Linked DNA regions of Homo sapiens: region 1 is linked to region 2. The links are contacts of gene promoters, found by promoter capture Hi-C in blood cells and fetal thymus (Javierre and others, 2016). All regions are on one chromosome and are shown on one strand. The core of a region is centred on a gene start or on the middle of the fragment in contact, and the rest is flanking DNA. Distances in the headings are between cores, read along the strand shown.

The links. The method cuts DNA at HindIII sites, captures the fragments that hold promoters and counts their contacts. A CHiCAGO score of 5 or more calls a contact.
Region 1: a contact is called between a fragment that was not itself captured here and the fragment with the promoter of RBM46 in region 2, in 2 of 17 cell types (megakaryocytes and endothelial precursors). The highest score is 9.3, in megakaryocytes.

The regions. Positions count from the first base shown.
Region 1 is chr4:154,552,227-154,558,461 of GRCh38, reverse strand. It overlaps the pseudogene LOC100422640. Among named protein-coding and RNA genes, the nearest start is that of PLRG1, 4.9 kb to the right of the region's middle. RefSeq lists an enhancer at 6,051-6,235. The HindIII fragment of the contact is 2,472 bases long and covers 190-2,661 here.
Region 2 is chr4:154,779,110-154,785,874 of GRCh38, reverse strand. It overlaps RBM46 (RNA binding motif protein 46), which reads right to left and starts at 4,603. Exons shown (of 5, transcript NM_144979.5): 1 at 4,439-4,603. It overlaps LOC105377500 (a long non-coding RNA gene), which reads left to right and starts at 4,002. Exons shown (of 4, transcript NR_188451.1): 1 at 4,002-4,086. The HindIII fragment of the contact is 3,692 bases long and covers 3,504-6,765 here.

The DNA.
Region 1 (6,235 bases), core at 176-2,675, 220 kb after region 2:
ATGTATTTTTTTGTAGAGATAGGGTTTCACCATGTTGCCCAGGCTGGTCTGGAACTCCTGGCATCAAGTGATCCACCAGCCTTGGCCTCCCAAAGTGCTGGAATTACAGCTGTGAGCCACCATGCCCCGCCCATATACATAATATATGAAAACCTTTAGTGATGGATTACATTATTTGAATATAAAGCTTCTCTTTCCAACATGGAATTTATGCTTAAAAATAAGACAGCCAGTCTGATAGTATTAGCAGTGAAACTCTAGGGAAAATGAGGACTTTTATTTTGGTGCATGTCAGTAACATGCATTTCAAAAATTTCAAAAATCTTTCACAATTTAATAACTAATAAGTATTACTTGAATTAGATTAACAATATTTTCTGTAAAATGTGCACAGGATTAGACAAAGGTTTAATAAAATTTTTATGAAGAGTTACAGTTTGATGAGAAAGCATGAGCCCTATAGATAAAAATGGGCAAAAGATATATATACATGTATGTATATCCATATATATATTTTAAAAAACACAAACATGTACTTGAAAAAATATGGAACCTAGATATAAATCAAAGAAAGCCAGAAAGGCTGGTTTCTAGAAACACGGATACAATGTTAGGGAAGGGGGAGACGTGGGCAGAAAAATCTCTATCCTCTCCACATAATAAAGAGGTAACGACAAACTAAGAAAAAGACGCAAGTTGAATGAGGATGGACAAAGTATGCTATTGGGTCCAGGATCTCCCTTCAATCCTTTGTTATTTGCTCAATGTTTCAATCTACTTTGCTGATATGGTTTGGCTGTGTCCCCACCCAAATCTCACCTTGAATTCTAGTTCCCATAATCCTCATATGTTGTGGGAGGGACCTGTTGGGAGGTAATTGAATCATGGGTGCAGTTACCCTCATACTGTTCTTGTGATAGTGAGTGAGTTCTCACAAGATTGAATGGTTTTATAAAGGGATTTCCCTGTTTCATTCCGCACTTCTCCTTCCTGCTGTCATGTGAAGAAGGGCATATTTGCTTCCCCTTCTGCCTTGATTGTAAGTTTCCTGAGGCCTTCCCAGCTCTGCAGAACTGTGAGTCAATTAAACTTCTTCCCTTTATAAATTATCTACTCTTGGTATGTATTTATCAGTAGTGTGAGAACAGACTAATATATGTGCTAACTAGTATTTTGTGTACTAGGTTTCCTTGTGGGGAGAATCGAGGCCCACTTTAGGTTTAGTTTAGGATGAAAATAGAAGCTGCCTGTGTTGACCTCTGACTTCTAGGTTACATTTATGCAGCTTTCTCCCCTTTTAGAACAACGGGGATAATTAGTATCATATAACTAATGTTTATGGATCAAGTAATTCTGTGCCGGTCACTGTTACTAGTACGTTACACTTAATTCTTACAATAACTCTATGAGGTAGAGTAGTACTATTATTCCCATTTTACAGATGGGAGAATTGAAGTACAAAAAGAAGAAAGTTACCCAAGATGATGCTGCAGGTAACTTGCAGAGAAGGAGTTGAATCATGGCATTCTGACTCTATACCCTTACCTACTATGATGGACAGTTTCTTCCTGTTATGTACAAAGCTATTTTTTCTCTTGTATTGATGTGGTGTTCCTACCTTAGCAAAATGAACACCTGTGTATGTATATCTTTGCATCCTTCTATGAAGATTATATATAATACATACATACATTCATACAGACATACACACTCTCACACAAACACACAAACACACATACATACATACCAAGGACATTTTTGGAAAGTAAATCCATTGTAACAAAAGGTATGCAAACAATTTTGGGGCCAGGAGTGGTGGCTCACACCTGTAATCCCTGCACTTTGGGAGGCCAAGGCAGGAAGGGTGCTTGAGCCTAGGAGTTCGAGAGCAGCCTAGGCAACATAGTGAGACACCTGTCTCTACAAAAAAATTAAAAAATTAGCCAGGCATCATAGTGCACACCTGTAGTTCCAGCTATTTGGGAGGCTGAGGTAGGAGGATCTGCCTGACCCCAGGAGGTCATCCACTGAAGTCTAGCCTGGGCCACAGAGAAAGACCCTGTCTCGAAAAAAATTGTCAGCTTATTGCTAAACTGCCTATGAAAGTGATTGCCACCATTTATACTCTCATCAATATTTAGGTTGTCCCTCATCCTTGTCATCACTTGTTGTTGTCAAATTTTAAAATTTTTTGCCAACCTATTAGGTGAAATATGTTATCTTATTGTTATTGTGATTAAAATTTCTTTCATCATGAGCACACTGAGAATCTTTTCAATTTACATATCAGCCACAATGTCAGTGGTCTTTCTGTGAACTGCCTGTCCATGTGCCTTGTCTTTTGAGTTGTTCATTTTTTCTGTTGATTCATGAGAGCTCTTTTCTTATTAAGAAAATTAGCCCTGTGGCTAACATACACATTGCCTATATTTCCCAATTTTTCATTTGTCTTTTAACTTTGCTTATGATATATGCAGACTTTGGCCTCATTTTCACTGAGTGGAATTTCAACAGCAGCATCTGCTGGGCTGACATGTTTGAAAAGGGCAGCAGATAGAATGCCTAATGCCTCTTTGAGTTCCTTCACCAGCTGCCAGGCATTCAAAGCATCACAAAAGTTTTTAAATCCAGGGGCTCCATTTAGAACTGTGATGGGAAGCTTAGGCTTCAGTGTGTATAGCTGCACAGGAGTCTGATGAGGGATCATTCTGTACTGCAAGGGCATCTGAGATATTCCTTTACTGTGCTATTTCCTGAGGTAATCTGAAATTGCTTCATCATATTGTGCCATATAAGTGAATGTGAATGCCTTCAAGACTAACTGGCACCTAGTCTCCAAGAAGGTGTCCTTACTCTTGGAGCTCTGCCTGTCTGTGGACACTGCCTCATAGTCCTCTGACACACCACTGTCACTGGATTGTGGTTTTTGGTGGCATCTCTCAGTAAAGTTACTCTACCAGTACCAATTTGCTCAACAGCCTCTCAACCATTACACCTGGAGAAGCCACTGTCTTCAGGAAGGGATAGAGATTACAGGCAACAATCAGGCCTGGCCATGTCAGCATTACCTTTTGGGATATTATGAGCCAGGATTCCAGCATGGATTTCAGGATGCAAAATTTTCACAGCATTTCAGGAAATCCTGTCAGCTCAGAGACCTCTCTGACTGCCAGACCAGCATCCCTGAGATGCTGGTCTCAGGGATTTTTCAGTCCCTCCAGAAGCAGCAGTAGTGAGGCCACATGCACAGAGAGGAGGGAGGTCCCTGATTCAGGTTTTCACGTCTCTTAATTTTTTTTTCCTTTAGGTCTTGCACATTTTAAAATTTATTGCTATTTTAAATAAAAATCCCTTTCCCTGCTGTATTTTTAACTGCATAAAGGAAAACTATTGATTTTTAATAACATTTTTATACTCAGTGAATTTTCATATTGTTTCGAATAGTTTTTTCAATTGGTTTTTCAGGTAGAAAGTCATACCGTTTGCAAATAAAGATAACTTTTCATCCCTATTTCCTATTTTACACAATTTAATTTTTTTGTCCAATTGAATGACTAGTGCTTTCATAAAAAATACACGTGGATAATAGTGGTGATGGTGGACATCCTTGTATTGTGACTAATAAGAATATTTTTAATATTTCTCTGTGAACATGATTCTGGCTTTTGGTAGCATATTTCTAAAAGAAAGCCTGAAGTGTCTAAATAGCATTATGTAATATAAATATAATGGGATCTATAAATATGAATTAATAATAATAGTAAAATATTCAATCAAATGCCTTACTCTTCTTAATTATTCATGTCAAAAGGTATTTCTGCTAACTAAACTGACTGTTGCAAATATTTCTACAGATAAATTGTATTTTGTAACTAAGTTGCTAAGTTTTATAGAAACTAAATAAAATTTAGAATTAACTTACTTAAATGTAATGGAAAATATTTTTCATTGTCATAAAATTTACAAAGATCAGAAATACAGAACTGAACAGTCCTTTTATAAGCAATTATCTGCATTACACACACAGAAAGACTGTGATTAAATTAATGGTTACTGAAATAGCAACTTTTCGGAGTGAGCACATCACACACACACACACACACACACACACACACACTCACAGACCATCCTTCCTACATGTTCAGTAGCTGCAACTCCAAATCAAAATTAAAGTCTCGGCTGGGCTCAGTGGTTCACACCTGTAATCCCAGCACTTTGAGAGGCTGAGACAGGTGGATCACCTAAGGTCGGGAGTGCGAGACTAGCCTGGCCAACATGGTAAAACCCCATGTCTACTAAAAATACAAGTAATTAGCCAGGCGTGGTGGTGCACACCTGTATTCCCAGCTACTCCGGAGGCTGAGGCAGGAGAATCATTTGAATCCAGGAGGCAGAGATTGCAGTGAGCTGAGATGGTGCCACTGCACTTCAACCTGGCCGGCAGAGCCAGACTCCGTCTCAAAAAAAATTAAGCTCTCAAAGCCACCTAAACCCATATTTAAGTGTACAATATAATAGCTTACTTATTCATTCATTCAATAAATATTGAAAACTTACCAGTTGCAAGTCAATTAGATTCTGACTGTGTGATAGTAAACATCATGCCATATTCACCCCATAAGTCTACTGGGAAATACAGATATTTAAACAAATATTACAACAAAACATTCAGCTAAGAAAGCTGGAACCAAGACATTGTTATTTCTTCTGTGGCAGTATAAACACCAAAAATATTTCTGTAAAATAAAAACATTTGTAAATGCCTGCAAATATTTGTAAGTACAAATTCTTATTTGTAAAGGTAAACAACAAAAGTCATGATTATGTTCAATATTGTCACTTATTTTGTGATATAGTGTTGTGGGTTGAACTGTGTCCCCCCAAATTCACATTATGAATTCCTAACCCCCAGTATCTAAGAATGTGACCTTATTTGGAAATAGGGTATTTTTGGATGGAATTAGTTAAGATGAAGCCATACTGGAGTAGGGTGGGCCTTTAATTCAATATGATTGATGTTCTTTAAGAAGGAGAAATTTGGCATAGGCATATGCACAGTGAGAACGAAATGTGAAGATGAAGGCAGACATGACAGTGATGCAGCAGAAGACAAGAAACGGCAAAGACTGCCAGAGAACTACTGGAAGTTAGGGGAGAGGCATAGAACACATTCTCTCTCACAGCCCTTAGAAGGAACCAACTTTGCCAACGCCTTTATTTCAAGCCTCTTGCCTCCAGAACTGTGAGACAATAAACATTTGTTGTCTAAGCCATCCAGTTTGTGGTACTTTGTTACATCAGCCCTAGCAAACTAATACACATGAGATGGGGCTTCATGTAGTAGAGGATGGTGAAATTGTGATAAGTAAGACCCGAGGACTCTCTCTCTCTCTCTCACACACACACATACACCTTGCTAAGATATTTATAACTGACAGTTTATAACTGATAGTACAATCTAATTATTCCCAAAGTCTTTCCAGGCATTAACAGGAAGAACAGCCCCTTCACTGTTCCTTATAGTCCCAGAAGCTTGTTTCAACTATGCTACAAGAAAGTATCTGCTAACACTACCTTAGTATTTAGGCAAATTCATAGCATTGTGCTAAACAATTAAAGACCAAAGTTTTGGAAGAAATGTCCAAGTATCATTTTTCACAGGTTTTGACCTCAGAAATTCAAATAAACAGTGATAACTCCCATGATTACTTCCTTTTGAATTAACGAACAATTTCAAATATGAAATTTAAGGGATGGACATACTGAGCCACACAACTCTAAAGAACATTGCATATAGTGTTTTTTAAAGCTTGTATATTTAACCCTCTAAGTTGAAACAGAAAAATAAATAGTAATATTTATTATTTTATAAGAATCAGAAAACACTTCCTATAAAAATATCATAAAAAGCTGATGAAAATGGCACTCAAATCTATACTCATATGACCTATCACTGTTCAAGAGCAAAGGACAATATTTGAAGGAGAATAAAAAGAGTTTCTGTATTGGTGAGTTTAAAAAATCTTGCCTAAAGAAGGAGGGCTTTCCTTAAAACTTGTATTCTTGGTTTTACACAGACATAATACTAATAATTTATATTAATAAGTTACTTGCCGTGTCTGCTTTAAGGACAGCCCTGAGGGCCCGTACAAAGAGCAGTGGTGACACCTGCTGTTCAAATAAGGCAGCTTCGGGTGTCAGCCAGGCCATGTGTGTATGACGGAGCCTTTCAGGA
Region 2 (6,765 bases), core at 3,354-5,853:
AAGAAAACCAAAAGTAAATACGGTGAAGAGTCCTGCTTAAAGTCACAAAATTAGTAATCGAAAAGACCAAGGGCCCAAACCATGGAGCCTCAGAAATTCATAACTCTGAACTCTCTTCAATAATTTAGTCCAGAGAGTCTTCAATGGCCTCGACATCCCACAGGACATCATACTGGCCCACTACACTAAAGATCATGTTGATAAAATGTGAATAGGGAATTGTGACATTTGTATTTTTTTAAACATGCTACAGGAAAAACAGTGAGAGAAAAAACAAGAATCTAGTTAAGACTGTTGCAAAAGTTTTTGCCATTAAAAGTAATGGCAAAAACTGTGATTACTTTTGCACCAATCTTAATATGGTACCTTACATATGCTACTTACTGGTTATAGAAATAATAAATATGCTCCCGTTTTATCCAAAATGTAGAATTTAACTTAATAAACAAGACTTTTTTTTTTTTTAACTACAATTCACAGCTAGCTCCAAATGGCTGATTTCTGCAATCCAACCCATCTCTACAATTACCTTACAGACCTATTTTTTGGGTTAATTCATGTCTCTAAAGTTCTATTTTTAAAGAGATTATTTAGGTTCTTACAATGAAATAACATGCCAGTCCATACACATTAAAGGCTCCTTTTACTAGATAATGACTAGAAACATATGCTAGACTTTGTACATCTCAAGAAATCTCAATCAAAATATTATGAAAGCTTGAAATTACAGAAGTAAAAGACACACTGAAGAGTCACCAATCCTATATTCTCTTTAGAAAAAAAAACCCTTATCTCAAAGCCTCCAAAACAAAATATATGCACGTGTATAATTCACAAGAAAGTTCAAAATTACCTAACTTTAACATATTAATTTAACAAAAGTTTATTTCTAAAAGAGGCAAAATTCAAGAATAGCCAGAGAAATATAATCAAATCTAAAACAAGCATACAATACATTCATTCTAAAATACTCCAGAATCAACCTGTTACCTAAATATCCAAGAAAGCACATCTGTCCTATACATTAAAGCAAAACTGACATACCAATTGAGGCTTCCAGACTTAATTTGTCCTCTGCCACTTTCAGGTGTGAAGTCACACTACAAAGCGTTCTAAAAACTTATTTCCTTACCCTGCTGACCCAAGTAATCCAAGTAAGAGAAGGAGGGATCCTGAGTAGAATGTCAAAAATGGTTTTGCAGACAAAGTGGGAATGAGAAATTAAAAGTTGTGCCATATTTAACTCTAGCTTTCAGATATGTATTTTTTTCCCTAAACTGTAGACTTTCAAAGATTCCTCTCTAGCTCACTTTCAAAAGAAAAAATAGAAGGAAAAAACCTCTCTAAGGTATGAAGCAAAAGGCCAAGACAGGATAGCAAATCACAAGCTATTCAAGTAACAATGTGAATCAAGCCTTTATCTTTAAGTGCTAACTATATCTCCTTTAATTTTAACCTTCTTAACAATTATCAAAAATATGTATTTTCAAATTTGTACTGCCATTCAAAAATAGAAAGTATATTAATGAAAAAAGACAAGCACAATTTAAGCAAAACATTAATGAAAATTATTTAAAGGAACTGTGTCAGCTGTATTAAAACTACTTCAACTGAAACTTCATCTTCCAAGTTACTGTAAAAATTTAGAAAGCTGTGAAAGAGAACATTATATAATCTTACTGTGGGTTTTAAAAACTCAATGTAATAATGAAAAAAATTAAGAATATCAAAGCGTGCCTTTATAGGGGCACATTAAATGTTTATGACATTTCTTGAATTACATGGTACTAAACTCCTGATTTGTTAGCACTGTTGTCATTGAGTATGGTACATGGAAACCATGGTTGCCAGGTCAATGGTTGCCAGGTCAATGGAGGTTTTCTGTTTGTTTTTAAGCAGCAATTCATTTTAGTGACAGACTGCACTACAGCCACTACACTTCTCGTTCTTGGAAAACGAGAAGAGTTAATCAAAAGTGTGTGGACATGGAAGTCTAAAATTATTTCGAAATAAGTGTACAGATGGATCAGTTCAATTCCATTTTAAGTTGTTTTTATTAAAGAATGAGAGCACATTTTATTGCTAGAAGTTAAATATATAATGGATAAAAGTTTTAATATTAAGTTTAAATTCTGAATGACTTAAAAATTGAACTATTTAAAAAAACTGTAACTAATACTTTTAAAAAATACTGCTTTGAACACAAAGGTGTATATGCTGTTTGAATTCAGGATAAAGATATCTACATATTCTTGTCCAAATTAAGTACACCATTCCTTACACAAGGTCCTTCATAATCTGTTATTTTAAATCTGTTACCAATTTGAACATAGAGATCACATTTTCTTGCCTCATCAATCATCGGGTAGTAAAATGAGAAATAACATTCGGCATTAATATGCAAATCTGGACAATTTTTACAGCAATTACTTGATTTGTAGTCACAAACTCTACTTAAACTGACATGTCTTCCTTCTCCTAACAATAAAATAACACCATTAAACCTGAGACTTAATTTCAGTCCATAAACTGGGTTTGTTCTCGTTATTAATAATTCTTGTTTCATAATATATCCAGTAATGCATATATTTTAAGTGTTGATATGTATTATATTTGGCAATAATATTCAAGTACATTACTCCAACCTCTTAAGTGAAAATCAGCAATCAAAGCAGTGCCTTAAGCAGAAAGCATTAATATTTAGTGATTGCAGGCAGCACTGTCATCTTTATGTCTATAAAGATGCAAACAAATTTTATTAACAATGCAAACAAATGCAGACAGATGCAAACAAAGTTTAAAGTAGAATGTTTTAAACGTGTGCCCTGAAAACAAGTCTATTATTAGACCCCCATAAGGAGATTCAATTCTGAAAAGATCCAAATGGAAGTCTGTCAAACTGTATATACATCGTGGTGATTCTTGAAACGAAAATATCTTCCCATTATTTAAATAAGCAAAATTCTACAGACCCTTGAACATGTCCTTTATATGTTATTCTCCTTATACACGCAACATATCCTGCTTCCTGGTTATAACGCCATTCTCAAACACAAAATCAGGCCAATTTTTAAGAGAAGCCAAGACTTAAAAAGCTCGGCGGCGATGGCTCACGCCTGTAATCCCAGCACTTGGGGAGGCCGAAGCGGGTGGATCATGAGGTCCAGAGATCGAGACCATCCTGGCCAACATGGTGAAACCCTGTCTCTACTAATACAAAAATCAGCTGTGCGTGGTGGCGCGCGCCTGTAGTCCCAGCTACTCCCGAGAGTTTGAGGCAGGAGAATCGCTTGAACCCGGTAGGCGGAAGTTGCAGTCAGCCGAGATCCTGCCACTGCTCTCCCGCCTGGGAGACAGAGCGAGACTCCGTCTCAAAACAAAACAAAAAACAAAACAAAAAAACTCCTTATGATATTTCCTCTTTGATATTTGCCTATATTAGGATTACCACATAACATAAAGGTTACGGGGAATTTATCAAGAATGTAAAGACAGTTAAAGCTTAAAGAACTTAAATATTACCTAAGCTAAATTTACATAGGAGAAAACTGGTGCCCAAATAAATCAAGCAGCTTCGCAATATCTCAGAATATCAACGCCAGGATTAAATGCCGCTGGTTCTGTGGTTTTTCCAGCAGCTCCAAAGAAACATTTTTAAATTAGGGGTTTAAAAACTACCAGATGTTAGGAAACAAAGGCGGTGCCACGACGTGTGCTGCCGTCCGTGTGTCGGGGGAGAGGCGAGCTATCTTCCCTGTGCACCCGCGGCCTCCCACTGCCCACAGCCCAGCACACACGAGGTACTCGGGGAAGAAACAGGGAGACAAAGGCAAAGTAAAGTTCGAGGCTCAGTCCCGGCTAGAACTCCACGCAAACGACTAGGAGCCCGCTAAAGCTCACCCAGCCTGAATTCAATTCTGAAACCAGACTGCTGAATCTCACCCAGCCGTCGGGACGCCCCAGACGGCGTCCAAAGCCTCCAGGGGACGCGCGGACCCTACAACGGCCAGGCAGCGGCCCGGGCCTGCAGCGGTCGTTGGTCGTCGGCGTAAGCGTGTCAGGAAAATAACACGAAATGCAGCACAGGTGGGAAGCGGCCGGAAGGCAGCGGGGGAGAGCGGAAATAAGGCGGAGAGCGCAGGGCGCCGCGGGGCGGAAGAGGCCGCCAGACGCCCCAAAGAGACTGGCCGCTGGGCCCTCACCATGCAGCGCCTGGGTGACGGCGAGGGCGCCTTCTGGCCGGATGCTGCCGGGGCAGGAAGCAGCGTCTCGGACACTTGCCCTCCCACTGCTCGACGGGGCTGGGGAAGGACGAGGGTGAACCCCGCAGCCACCGCCGCCAGCCCCCACTGTGTATTCGGCGTGAGAGTGAGCCGGGCACTATCCAGCCGTTAGCAGTGGTCTGGTAGTGACCCCGTTTCCCCTTTCCCCTCCTCACCCCTTCGGGTCTTCAAATGTTGGTCCTAAATCCCGGGGCCCAACGACCAAAAACCGCCGCCACCGTTTAGGGGACCAGTCGGTCAGAGCGAGGGGGGGTCGTCGCAGGGGGAGGGTAGCCCACCGGGACCGCTCGCGCTGGTCCTCGTGTCTCCACTCGTTTCCCAGCGCGCAGCGCGCGCGGTGGCCTAAGCAGCCCCACGAGGAGTGGTGCCTCATCCAATCAGGGATTAGCTTCGGGGCGGGGCGAGGAGGAGAGAGTGGGGCTAAAGTTTAAATGAGGCTCTTGGGCTAGTCAAAGTGCTTGGAGTGACAGGCATTTCGAGCAATTGGGGTGAAGAGAGCGATTTTTAGGGTGTGGGTGGGCACGGAATAATAAATGAAGGTCCTAGGTGCATTGTTTAGGTGTTTGAAGACGAGGGCTGCAGTGTGAAATTCCGCACTTAAGGGAAAACATAGATGCATCGTAATGGTTCTTTTTCTTGTTTGATGTAGTTTTCTTGTAAACTGCTAGTTTGGCGCAAAACAACCACATATATCCGGTGGACCTTTGAAATTAAGGGCTAGGGGGAGGTGGGTTATAAAGCTAAAAGATGGATTTGCAAATAGGACTAGAAGTATAAAGTATAAGTGGTTTAAATGACAATGACTAAGAAAATGGGTTAGATGAGGAGAACTAGCGATAGGCTTGACGCTACCACTAATCAGCTTGCAGGGACATTTGGCAGAGGCGAACTGCCGAACTGGGTTCTATGCTCTTGTAAAACCAACTTTCACAGATAGGGTTGTTTGGCATTCGGTATGCATAACTTCAGTTTTGCTTCCTTTGAAGACAGCTCGAAATTAAATGCAGACAAGGAAAGAAAAAACCACCTTTAGGAACCAACTATTTATGTATAGATAATATTAGATTCATGGAATATTAGACAATAAAGAACCTAGCTCATGTTGATTCTCTAATTAACAAGGAACTTCATGCCCAGAATATTCACCGAGTAACACAGATCTCCTTATTCCCAACCTCAAGGTGATTTCTTCCACATTAACTCCTAATGTATTTTCTCCATATATTCAAGGAACTAATGAATGTCTACCAATTTAAATTTTGTTAAAGTATATTTTTAATTTTTAAATATACTACAACAGTGAGGAATTAGCAGGGACTTTGGAGCCAGACAGACCCTGTTTAAAGTGGGGATTGTGAGAATAAAATAATATATGATATTACCAAATATTGAGCCAGATGCCAGAAACAATCCTAAGGACTTTTCATATTTTCATTTAATTCTCACAGTAACTTTGGTAAAGTTACTAGCCCTACTTTGCAGACGGGGAAACAGATGCAGAAACCTTAAGTAGTTTGGGCAAAGTCATATAGCAAGTAAGTGGCTCCAGTTTGAAACCTACAGACATAATTGCTATACTATACTGTCTCAAAATACGTCCAGAAACAAGTAGAAAACTTGGCATAGTACTTGATGCACACTGGAAGCTCAACAAATATTTTTTGTAAGCCGTCTGCCCTTTAGTCAATGAATACAAGTGTCATTTTATATAAGATGTATGCATTCAAAATAAAGCAACTAGAAAACCTAGACTGATAGATCTAGTTGGCTTTGTTTGACATGTCACCAATTCTGTACCTCGGGAACTGTGATTGTTATATTGATTACTATTTTTTGCTGCTCTTTTATTTCTCCAGAAAAAGATTCTCCTCATTCTTCATTTTCATGTCGGTACCTTCTCAATTCCTAGTAATTAATTCTAAATACATGTGTTTAAGGTTAAATTATCTGAAATGAGGTTAGGCATATTAGTGGCAATTTAAAACAAGTAATTTCTAGGAATGGCTGTAAGATCCTTAAGGAGTCACTAGGTGGAGATGTTGTGAGGTACAAAGATTGTTCTTGGAAATAGCCTGGAAGGTTGTTGAACATTGCTGGTTTTCTTGTTTCCCTTTTTGTCTTTTTTCTCCCCAAGTATAAAGAAAACCAAATAGACAAGGGCTTCTCAATAGGCATTACAGTCAGACCATAGAACCTTGCCATAGATGAGACAGTGTTGTTTAAAGACCCTTCCCATACTTAACATTGTATGTCATTTTGGTTAGATTTTGTCTAAGTTTTTATTATCCTAAAGTTTATTAATAGGTATACTTTTCAAATGCTATAAAAACTATTGTCTGCATGTACAATTAAAGAAATGACCTTTAACTTTATTTCTCAAGGCTCCCAGAGAAAGAGATCCAAAACACTTTTATCAGCTAGAATTCTTCAGTAACAGATTCCAAATTGGATTTGTTTTAAGATTATTTGAGCTTATGGGAAA